Linked DNA regions of Homo sapiens: all the other regions are linked to region 4. The links are contacts of gene promoters, found by promoter capture Hi-C in blood cells and fetal thymus (Javierre and others, 2016). All regions are on one chromosome and are shown on one strand. The core of a region is centred on a gene start or on the middle of the fragment in contact, and the rest is flanking DNA. Distances in the headings are between cores, read along the strand shown.

Region 1 (2,977 bases), core at 156-2,655, 420 kb before region 4:
TTCAATATATTTATTTATTTTTGAGACAGGGTCTTGCTCTTTCTGTCACTCAGGCTGGAGTGCAGTGGCACGATCTTGACTCATTGCAGCCTCCACCTCTTGGGCTTAAGCAATCCTCCTGCCTCAGTCTCCTGAGTATCTGGGACCACAGGCATAAACAACCATGCCTGGCTAATATTTCAATTATTTTGTAGAGACTGGGTGTTGCCATGTTGCCCAGGCTGGTTTTGAACTCCTGGGCTCAATTGATCGTTTTGCTTCAGTTTCCCAAAGTGCTGGGATTACAGGTGTGAGCCACTGCACCTGGCCGTGTTTCTTAAACTTTAATGTGCATATAAATCACTTGGGGGTGTTGTTAAAATGAAAATTCTGATTGATGGTCCAGAGTGTACAATCTGAGATTCTGCATTCTAAACAAGCTGTTGGTCCACCCAAGGACCACATATTGAGTAGCAAGGATTTATTTCTACTCCTTTGCTTAATAGATGAGGGACAGTCAGTGCTTCACCTGCTTTTTTAGGGCATCATCGTGACTTAGGCAGACTTGAAGTCATTGGAACTGAATATTATTAATGTCAGTTTCTCAAACTCTTACCACTAAGGTCTCTGGTGAGGCCTTGGTTGCTACCTTTCCTGAGTTGAGGTTTTCAACTTTTTATTTCATTCAGTGTGAGAACTGAAAGATTACTTTTAATAAATGTTATTTTTCTTTTTACCTTTTTTTTGGCCTGAGTTATTCAGACATGGTTTCTGTTGCTTGCAATCAACATAATATAACCTATACAGGGTATGTTTTGGGACTTACATGGCAAAGAAATATACCATAGTTGCATTACAAGGGAATAAATTCTTCTTTCCTCAGAACACAGCAGATAAATTTATTTCCTTAAAAGCTTACACAGATCCACTGGTGACTCACAAATGTCTTTCTCCAGCATGATCTTCTTCCTCATCTTCCTGGCTCTATCCAACTTCCAATTTGGCACTTCTATTTGAATATCTAATAGTCATCTCAGACTTAACATATCCCAAATCCAAAATTGAACCGTCCAAACTTGATGTTTCTATAGCAAATGGCACTCTTTTTACGCAGTTGCTCAGGTAAAAACCTAAGAATCATCCTTGATTTCTATTTTCCCCTCCCTAAATTCAATCCATTAGCAAATTCTATCAGTTCTGCCGTAAACATCTAGCACAAATCAACCACTTGCTATCTCAACTGCCTTGTCCTAGTCTAAACGATAGTCATGTCTGCCTTACACAACTACAAAAGCCTTCTAGTTCTACTTTTTGCTCCCACTCTAGTTTTTCCACATAGCAGCCCAAGAAATTCTTTTAAAATGTAAACAAGATCTTGTTACTTTTATGCTCAAAGCTGTTGAGTAGCTTCTTATCCCACTGAAAATAAAATCCAAACTCCCTACCATGATTTGCAGAGCTTATGTAATCATTGCTTTACTAAACCTCTTTACTTCTTGTAAAGAAATGTGCCATCTTTTGCTGCTCTCCCCTGGCACTCCCTGCTCCAGCTATGCTGGTCTCCCTCTTCAACTGGAATGAAAGTCCTAAGGGCAGAGATTTTTGTCTGTTTTACTTACTGTTGTATTCCTCCTACCTAGAATAATGCCTGTCACAAAGTAGATGTCAATTAATAATTCTTAAATGATTGAATGAAGAATGTGCAATCAATTAGGCACAGTAAATAGACAGACCCAGTCACTGGGACTCTGACAGGAAGTGGGGACTGGTCACTGGAGACAAGACCTAGGTTTTTACTGCTAACTGCTTATACTGCTAATCATTTATACCACTAATCATCCGTGTGTGGTATTACCTTTAATTTTGAAGTTCAAGATTTGTTCCCATAAACTTAGAACAAGGCTAGCAGTAAGGTAGATTGGGTAAAATGGCTGTCATCTAAGCTTCTCATTTTTCCCAACCAGAAGAATACAGTGTGTAAATGGCCTTCAAATGACCGTAGCTGGGAGTAGTAGAGAGATGCTAAGGCAGGCAGTGAAGCAGGTGATGTGTTGCTGTTACTGTACAGAGTTGCTATGGATAGTTTGTGTAGCTTTAGGAAGAAAATAAAGTAGATATCTTGCAATATATCGATTAACCAAATAAATTACTTGTTATTCATTCTTAAGCCTGTTCTGCCAGAAAGAAAATGGCACAAAATATTAACAAAAGCTTTGTATAAGGTAATTGTGGCTTGGAAATCTTATGACTGCAAATAATGACGTGACTGTGCTCACAAGGACAAAGGAATAAACAATAAGTAGAGATTTTAAAAATTACCCAACACACTTCTTCCACAGAAAGAAGGTTTTCCACTTTCTGTGGAACAGTGTCTATGATTATTCCTATTCTAAAGCCATTCAAGTGTCTTCTAGTTCCTTAGCCCTCATTTTCTTACAGATATATATTACTTAGTTCTTGCTTTTTCCCAGTCTTGTCCAAACACCAGCATCAACAATCTTTCTCCTATAGGTTAAATTCTACAACTCCCTAAACCAGTGGAAATCAAACTTGTCAGTACTTTAGTTGTTCAAATTTATAAGTGAATAGAGTCTGGAAATGGTCTGTGGCCTCCAGGCTGAGTTTTAGTGTCCTGGGCAAAGCCCTTTGCCACATGCTTCTGCAGTAAGGGGCAATCTGCCCAGTAATGTTCAACATATGTAACTAGTCCGTGTGCATGGTTTCTGCTTCCTGTCTGGTGTGCAATCTAACTTTCTACTGGGACCATAACCTCCTCATCATTGACCTAATACTCTAATCCTCTTTCCTTTTTTTTTTCTGTAAATCTACTTTCTCTGGGGACTGAACTTTCTTTCGGGCCACTTTCAAACTGGACTAACTTAATTGCAGACCAAAGTGTGCCCAACAAGAAGTATAGCTACTATCCAGAGACTCTTCCTATAGTGCTCTGACTTCTTAGGTAGAATCTCCTGAATATCAGCATAAGTCTGGACTAGGT
Region 2 (2,722 bases), core at 29-2,528, 390 kb before region 4:
GTGGTCTTGGAACCCATAAAGACAAGCTGTTAGAAGTGTACATAAAGTGAGAGTGATTAAGTTCTGATTGGGTAATGTATTAGGGTTCTCTGACTGGGTAGTGTATTAGAGGGATAGAACTAATAGGATATATATATATATATATATGAACATATATATATATAAACTCATATATACAAACTCATATATATATAAATTCATATATATATACTCATATATATATAAATTCATATATATAAACATATATTTATGTGTATATATACATACACACACACACACACACACACACACACATATATATATACACACACTCCTAGGGCACTCATTTATCTACCTATCTGTGATGGTTAATACGGAGTGTCAACTTGATTGGATTGAAGGACACAAAGTATTGATCCTGGGTGTGTCTGTGAGGGTGTTGCCAAAGGAGCTTAACATTTGACTGAATGGGCTGGGAAAGGCAGACCTACCCTTAACCTGGTGGGCACCATCTAATCAGCTACCAGCAAATATAAAGCAGACAGAAAAACATGAAAAGGTGAGACTGGCTTAGCTTCCCAGCCTACATCTTTCTCCCATGCTGGATGCTTCCTGCCCTGGAACACTGGACTCCAAGTTCTTCAGTTTTGAGACTTGGACTGGCTCTTCTTGTTCCTCAAGCTTGCAGACAACCTATTACGGGACCTAGTGATCACATAAGTTAATACTTAATAAACTCCCATATATATGGATCATTTTGGAGCTTCATCACTTATTTTAGTTCTGAATCACTGAAACTTATACAAGTTCTATATCTTTTACATCTAACTCCCATATATATATATAGGAGTTTATATCATATATATATATGATATAAATAGGAGATATATATATACTTTATAAACTCCCATATATATGATATATATCTCCTATATCTCCTATATATATCATATATATACTCAAACTCCTCTATATATGATACATATAGGATATATATATATGCTCAATAAATATTAGGGGTTTTTTTTTTTCTTTTTTCTTTTTTTGTTTTTTTTTTTGAGATGGAGTCTTGCTCTGTCACCCAGGCTGGAGTGCAGTGGCATGATCTCGGCTCACTGCAAACTCCACCTCCCAAGTTCTAGTGATTCTCGTGGCTCGGCCTCCCAAGTAGCTGGGATTACAGGCATGTGGGACCACACCTGGCTAATTTCTGTATTTTTAGTAGAGACAAAGTTTCACCATGTTAGCCAAGCTCGTCTCAAACTTCTGACCTCAAATGATTTGCCACCTCAGCCTCCCAAAGTGCTGGGATTACAAGCATGAGCCACTGTGCTCGGCCTAGTTATTTTTTTGGTTATTAACTAGCTGGGTGATTGTGTGTGTGTGTGTGTGTGTGTGCGCGCGTGTGCATGCATGTGTCAACTTTCAAATTCTCTGGGCATTAAGAGGTAGGCTAGATAATATACTGTCTAATTTCCTTCCAGCATTATTATTCTGTGACTATGGCAGTGTAGCCTAATATTTACAGAAAGGAGTCATCTGTTTTATAAGCCAAGTGGCTTAGGGGTGCAATCTCAGGATTTGTACCTTGAAAATCCATGTAAATTTGTGCTTTTAGGTTGAGTAAAGATTACAGGAAGTGCAGTATATACTGTTAAACAATATTTTTTGTTTTGGTTATGATAAAATTCTGTGCTAGAATTACTCTGTTGTGATTGTTCCTTCTATGTAAAGTGTATGTAAAAGTGGTGAAAATTTAGTCTTCTCAGCTGGGATATGAAAATACATATTATGTTTCTCATTGTTAAACTGAAGCCACACGATTTAGAACATAGAAAAGATAAGTGTAAGTAACACCATGGATTGGACTACTTAAAAATTTTAAATGGTTATAAATAATGGATGGATATATCGTACTGAAGCTTAAGCCAAGAGGGTGCTCACTCAGTAGTTTAAGGCATCAATACTCTTAACAGTATTTATTAGGAATAAAAAAGTTCCTCTCACCCTCTTGCTTTACAATATAACCCATGAACAATCAAGTGATTCTTTTAAGAGAGATGGAAGCACTTATTAAACATTGTAGTTATGTGCATAACTATTTTGAAGGAAACACAGGGTTTAAAATGATAGGAAATACGTTGATGTGTCATTCCAGGGGCAATCCTGAAGCAAGGATTCAGAGAAGCATGAGTGGAGAGTGATAGAAGGAAAGGGGGTAATTTATTTGCTTCTCCCTCTTCCTGGCTGGTTATGCCCGATTAAGAGGAGCTGGGCATGCTCACAGTAATGAGTAAGCAATGGGGCTATGCCAATTAACATTAAAGCAGTGGTCCTCAACTATTGCTGCATTCACCAATTGAAAAAGGGAAGGATGTTACAGAGATGTTCTGAATCTGGCTTGCACCAGTTCCTGAGAGCAGATTGTTAAATTTTCAGGAATCTTGTGAGTCACTTATTAAACAGTCATTATTAAAAAATAAGATGGGTACAGAAGCTCATGCCTGTAATCTTAGCACTTTGGGAGGCCGAGGCAGGAGTATTGCTTTGATGACAGGAGTTTGAGACCAGCCTGGGCAACATAGTGAGACCCTGTCTCTACAAAAACAAAAATAAAATAAAATAAATTATATTCATATACACTTAAATAAATAATATTAAAACAAAGGCAATACATACTCAAGGCTCATCACTTCTTAATTTTTTACTACATTTTACATTTACTTTATGCTGTTATTTACAT
Region 3 (2,887 bases), core at 172-2,671, 510 kb before region 4:
GCAGCAGCAGCAGCGGCAGCATAATACTTATAGGCTCTGGATAACAAAACTTTCCCTTGCTTTCTGAAGGAATTTGTTACTAAATAATATTGCCACCTTCTATTTGCTCAACCAGACTTTCCAACACTTTTGTAATCAATTCCCTGGATTGAAGTTCCTCTTTTCTGAGTCATTTCTGTTTGTCTTGGCATTGATTAATATAAGCCCATACTCCAATATATGCATAATTATTTATAATATACATACATTACTACAATACATACATTACAGAACATGCAGCAATAGATATTTTAAAAGACTGAGGTAAACAAGAAGTAAACATTCTAAATTTGGGGCTCTGTTTATCAACAATTTTAAAACATTTTGCTCTTACTGAAGAGCAAACTGCTCTTGATGCTCTTACTGAAAAACATTAAAACAAAAATTTGAGTAAATATGTGTCATTCTCTACGTCTTGGCTTGGTTTTACACTTTGTAAAACAGTCATCTGAAAATACAGTACTATTTTCAGGTTACTTAGATATAATGGTTGTCATGGGTGCAGAGGAGGGGTGGTGGTAAGTTGAGGGAGAAAGCCTCACAAAATAGTAAATTCAAATGGAAGAAGAGTATCAATGGCTGTGCTTACTACATCAAAATAATCAATTTTCAATATTAATGGCCAATTATGTAAAATACTTTGTTGAAATTTAGCTAGTAAATTTCCATCTTCAGATGAATAAGTCATTCCTATAAACTAAGAGGTGTAGCGTTTTATTTTTTAACAAAAGGATTTTAAAATCAATTTAAAGATTACATTTGAAAGATCTTAAAGTAAGTTATAACATTATGTTCCAAGTTTTACAAAATATGCCAATATATTTTTGTACAATTTTCAATGTATATAGAAACTAGTTTTACAAATACATTGGTTTTTGGCAAGAAAATCACATTGTAATGAAAAGAATTACAAACATTCAATATGAAATGTTTTCTCCATAACCACAGGTCCTTCAAAAAGCAGTTACCTTCTCACTCATTATTAGTACTACTACTTTAAAAAGACAGATCGAATATGTTATTTTTCAAAAATATACATTAGAGCGCATAGTATGGACAGTCACCTGTCATAACAGAAAAGGTGAGTAAAATTAGAACCTTGTCATTCTGTAAAAGAAAAATGCATAACTGCCATAAATTTCTTATTACTTCTCAATACTCTACCACTGGATAACCAGTGAACCTCAAGTGGTGCAAATGATATTCATGGCCCATTCTCCATCTTATTACAAAGTATCATAAAGATTCCACTAAAATTTTAAGATTCTTTCACATTTGGTAACATATTTTTGACTACATTTTAAAGCTTTAACTTAAAAAACGAAAACAAAGTGACCACATCAATGATGTCCTACAGCACTTGTGTGTACTTGTGACTTCAATTTATTTGTTAAAATAGCTTGTCTGTAAAAGACTGAAGGGATTTCATGTGTAGAAGTAGTTCTGTAACCTGCCTCGGCAAGCTTTTTTCTATTCCATTCAAATCGACCACTCCAATATTCTAAAACTATGTAACTATAGATAACATAGATTTTCAAGAACACACTGTTTTACTGTAGGGCAGTATTTTGCTGTTTAGCCACAATCTTCTCCAGTGATTATTTTGGTGATTTATAACAACATAGTTCTTCGAATTATTTCAATTGAGCCTAGCAAATATCATTGGATGAAATGTTAGAAATATTGGTACTTTCATTTAACTATATAGTAAACATTCCACACTGCATAATTTGTTCAATACTTGTTTTTGCAAATCTTCAGCAATGTTTTCTATACATATTCTAGCAGTATTTGCTGACAAATGTGATAGTTTGTTGCCATATTATTTTTCACACATTATTTCAGCCATTATTGCTCTTGAAGAACAGTGTTTCCAATGGTAAATATGTTTGTATTTTAATATTGTTTTTTAAATCCCCAAAAGTCTTCTAAATATTAATTTAATGATTTTGTAAAGTCTGTACTGAGTCTCACGTGACATTAAACACTGCTTGATTCATGATCTAGGTAGTTAGATTTTAATGCCTTACCAATGAAATGGTCTTCCACCATCGCACACCATACACTGAGGGTGACATTCTTTTTCAATGACAGTGAATATAAATCATTTCAAATAGACTTCTTGATTATTATTTTTGATCAATGTTCAAATATTGCTAAATCATCATTGTTCTTACTTTATAATGTAGTTTACAAAGTGTTCATAATATGTTTCAGGGATGTTCTTTTTCAAATGGGCTTGGATTATTAGTATCATCTTTTCTATGCTTTTTTTCAGTCAGTTGTCTGTTTTGTAAGAGTTAGTTTTAGTTAAACTAATCTGTCACTAATCTGTGACTCCACATAACAAGGCACAGATAACATTTAGTAGCTCCAACTCTTTAACAAACTCCACTCTCTCCCATCAGGATGTTCTGTTTAAGTAGCAATGCATGTAAATAATGCTCTGATATTGCCCAGCTCTATCTGGGCATATTAACTGCTGGTAACTTTAACTTCTTAGATTTTTTAAATAAAAAACACAAATAACAATTTTTATTTCCTCTCAAACCCTAACGCATCATCTTGCATATTTCTTGGAATGCATGGACTTTATTTTTGAGGCCACTATTCTACAGTATGGGCTTTGGACTCAGATTTTAAAAATATTTATTGGATATGTATATTGAAGCAGGTTACTTATCCATGAGTCTCATATAGCTTATCTATAAAATAAGAATAACTATATCACAGAACTGTTTGATAACTACATTAGATTGATAATAAGAGATAACATTTTTGTGAACATACAAAGTGCAAGGCTCTAGTCAAAGCACACAAAATTTATTAATTCTTGAGTATGGCGTCT
Region 4 (2,700 bases), core at 112-2,611:
GTCATCACTAATGAACAACAAGAAATAGTTTGAAAACTTCTTTGAGATATTCACTTGCAAATGTCACCCGAATTTCAGAAAAGTACAGTCTCTGGAGTAAAGCTATTATACACTCAGAGAGACTGTTGTGCTTTGCATGCGTTATATCATTTAGTCCTCAAAACATGTTGTCAAGATTGGCATTATTATCTCCATTTTAAAGATGAGAAAATTAGGTGCAAAGAGCTTCAGTAACACACTCAAACTCATTCAACAATAAATAACTAAAAATTGTGCTATACACACTTTAAGAGTCACATGTTCCTCCCCCAAAATTATGAAAGGCCATAGAAGGAATTCAAGAAGTAGGCTTCATGACTTATCGTTTCTTCTCATCTCAGATGAATTCACTTTAATCTCTCATGCCCAAATTGTAAAATATCATTTTGATCACCGTCAATATTACACAGACCTGTTTGAATGTGCTCAGCTTTTTCAGTAAAATTAGAAGAAACCACAATTTACAAACAGGTATATGTGCATTAAGGAAAAAACAAAAAACTACCATGTGATTTTAGATATGGATGCCAATTCTTAAACATTGTTTATTATTTCTGAGCTCAAGTGCTTAGAATGTTTAAAATGCAATATATTTATGTGGATTTTTTTCCAGGATATTGGAACATATATAAAATATGCTTGTGCATATCTAAGCTTTGTATTTATTTCAGGTTATATGTATACTGAGAAGAATATATAAACAGTGTATGATATTTACATGTTATTTCATTTTTTGAGGGAAATTAACCTCCACAATTATTAACTATGCATAAAATGTAATGGCAGATATGACTTATATTGTATAGGACTGACTACAATTCCTCTTTAGAAATAGCTGTTCTTTGCTTTTATAATACTAGGAAAAGAGGAAAAGAGTTCTTAAAGAAATACAAGGATTCCTCAAGCCCCTCTTCCCTAAAACATGCTCTATCATATCTCCTGGATTGACTGGAATATCCTTCTCTGCCCCCACCCCATCACCCTCTCAATGCAGTGGAAAAGTCGGTGGGTAATTGGGTCCAGATTGGAGGTGTTTAAATATTCATGAGGCTGGCAGGGGACTGGGAGGGGGCGACTGTCTAGAATGGGGGTAGGGGCTGGGGGAAGTGATTAGTCACTGAAGGCTAGAGAACAATTCCGAGAAAGAGACGGAGAGAGAGGGAAGAAAAAGACAGATAGATAGATATTGGGGGGAAGGAGAAAAAAGGAGAAGAGAGGGAAGAGAGGACAGCGGAGAGAGAGCACCAGAGAGAGAGGGAGAGAGAGAGAGAGCGCTAGAGAGAGGGAGCGAGCATGTGCGATGAGCAATAGCTGTGGACCTTACAGTTGCTGCTAACTGCCCTGGTGTGTGTGAGGGAGAGAGAGGGAGGGAGGGAGAGAGAGCGCGCTAGCGCGAGAGAGCGAGTGAGCAAGCGAGCAGAAAAGAGGTGGAGAGGGGGGGAATAAGAAAGAGAGAGAAGGAAAGGAGAGAAGGCAGGAAGAAGGCAAGGGACGAGACAACCATGCTGTGCTGTATGAGAAGAACCAAACAGGTAGAGCTAAAGATTTTTTACTTCTTGCTGTTGTGAAATAACCCGAGTACAGTATTTCCCCGTAAAGGCAAACAATTTTTTTACTGCTTCTGCTCTGGCCGTGGTGCTCGCGCTTCCTTAGCATATGGTAACTGATGGTTGCATCCCAGCTTTTATTCTTTTCTGTCTTTCATGCTCTGGTTTTGGAATGCTGCTACTAATTAGGGTGAGGGTAGAAAAAACATGCCTGTTTGGCTAGAAATAATTTTTTTTTTTCTTATTAGTGAATGCTCAGCATTTGAGGTCTCTGGTCTTGAGGGTGTGGACGTAGAAAGGGGTGTGGGGGAGATGATGTGGGCTCTACCTACAAGATGGGGAGGCATTTCTTTATATTATTTGCAAAAAAGCAGGGTTGAGGAAATAATATTCAGAACTGAGTATTGCCTCTCTGTCATACAATTTTCTCACATGTGCTGCGGAAGATGCCTTATTTCGTGCATGCATGAGCTTCGAAGGGGCGCAGGTATTTATGGAAAAACGTGCAGGTCTTATTTATTTAGTATTTATTTTTCAATGAATGAATGAAACTGTGATTTGATAGATTTTTTTTTTTTTTAAGAGAAGCTAAGACAACTGGGGCTGGGGGAGAAATTGGCCATGCAGAAGGAGAAAATCCCCTTCCTAAGATCAGCAGCCGATTGTGCACCAGCTGGTCGGAGGAGAGGGTGGACCACGCCCCTAGGAGCTCCGATGGGATGGGAAAGACAGCCGGGTATTACCTGTTGGAAACCAGGTCTTTTCTCTTATCCCCTTCCCTTGCTTCTTTCCTGGGATTGTCAGTGACCAGAGACAGGCTAACATCCTGGATAATAAGTATGGTGACTCATTTTCATCAGGAAGAGGGACACATCCAAGATTAGCAAGAATCAGAGCCCCTCCTTCCCTCCCCCACTGCCCAGGTTTTACAGCCATTTCCAATTGCTCGCTTATTTCTTGAAAGACATTTTAGAAACTTGATTGGGGTGAGAGTGGGAAGGAATGACGAGTGTGGTATTCCGCAGCAACCGACCATGCCATGGCAGTCTCCAAAAGAAGCTTTCAAACATTTGTTGGAATGCATTTGAGTGATTTTGGCAAAGGTTAAAGAGAA

Evidence for each region. The method cuts DNA at HindIII sites, captures the fragments that hold promoters and counts their contacts. A CHiCAGO score of 5 or more calls a contact.
Region 1: a contact is called between a fragment that was not itself captured here and the fragment with the promoter of GAP43 in region 4, in 1 of 17 cell types (endothelial precursors). The highest score is 5.6, in endothelial precursors.
Region 2: a fragment that was not itself captured here is called in contact with the fragment with the promoter of GAP43 in region 4 in 2 of 17 cell types (megakaryocytes and total CD8 T cells); the score reaches 5.4 in megakaryocytes.
Region 3: a fragment that was not itself captured here is called in contact with the fragment with the promoter of GAP43 in region 4 in 1 of 17 cell types (total B cells); the score reaches 5.6 in total B cells.

What each region holds. Positions count from the first base shown.
Region 1 is chr3:115,201,546-115,204,522 of GRCh38, forward strand. No RefSeq gene overlaps it. Among named protein-coding and RNA genes, the nearest start is that of ZBTB20, 56 kb to the left of the region's middle. The HindIII fragment of the contact is 1,029 bases long and covers 892-1,920 here.
Region 2 is chr3:115,230,895-115,233,616 of GRCh38, forward strand. No RefSeq gene overlaps it. Among named protein-coding and RNA genes, the nearest start is that of ZBTB20, 85 kb to the left of the region's middle. The HindIII fragment of the contact is 1,241 bases long and covers 659-1,899 here.
Region 3 is chr3:115,113,767-115,116,653 of GRCh38, forward strand. All of the region lies in intron 1 of ZBTB20 (zinc finger and BTB domain containing 20), which reads right to left. Among named protein-coding and RNA genes, the nearest start is that of ZBTB20-AS4, 15 kb to the left of the region's middle. The HindIII fragment of the contact is 157 bases long and covers 1,344-1,500 here.
Region 4 is chr3:115,622,149-115,624,848 of GRCh38, forward strand. It overlaps GAP43 (growth associated protein 43), which reads left to right and starts at 1,362. Exons shown (of 3, transcript NM_002045.4): 1 at 1,362-1,571. The coding sequence starts at 1,542. The HindIII fragment of the contact is 1,952 bases long and covers 692-2,643 here.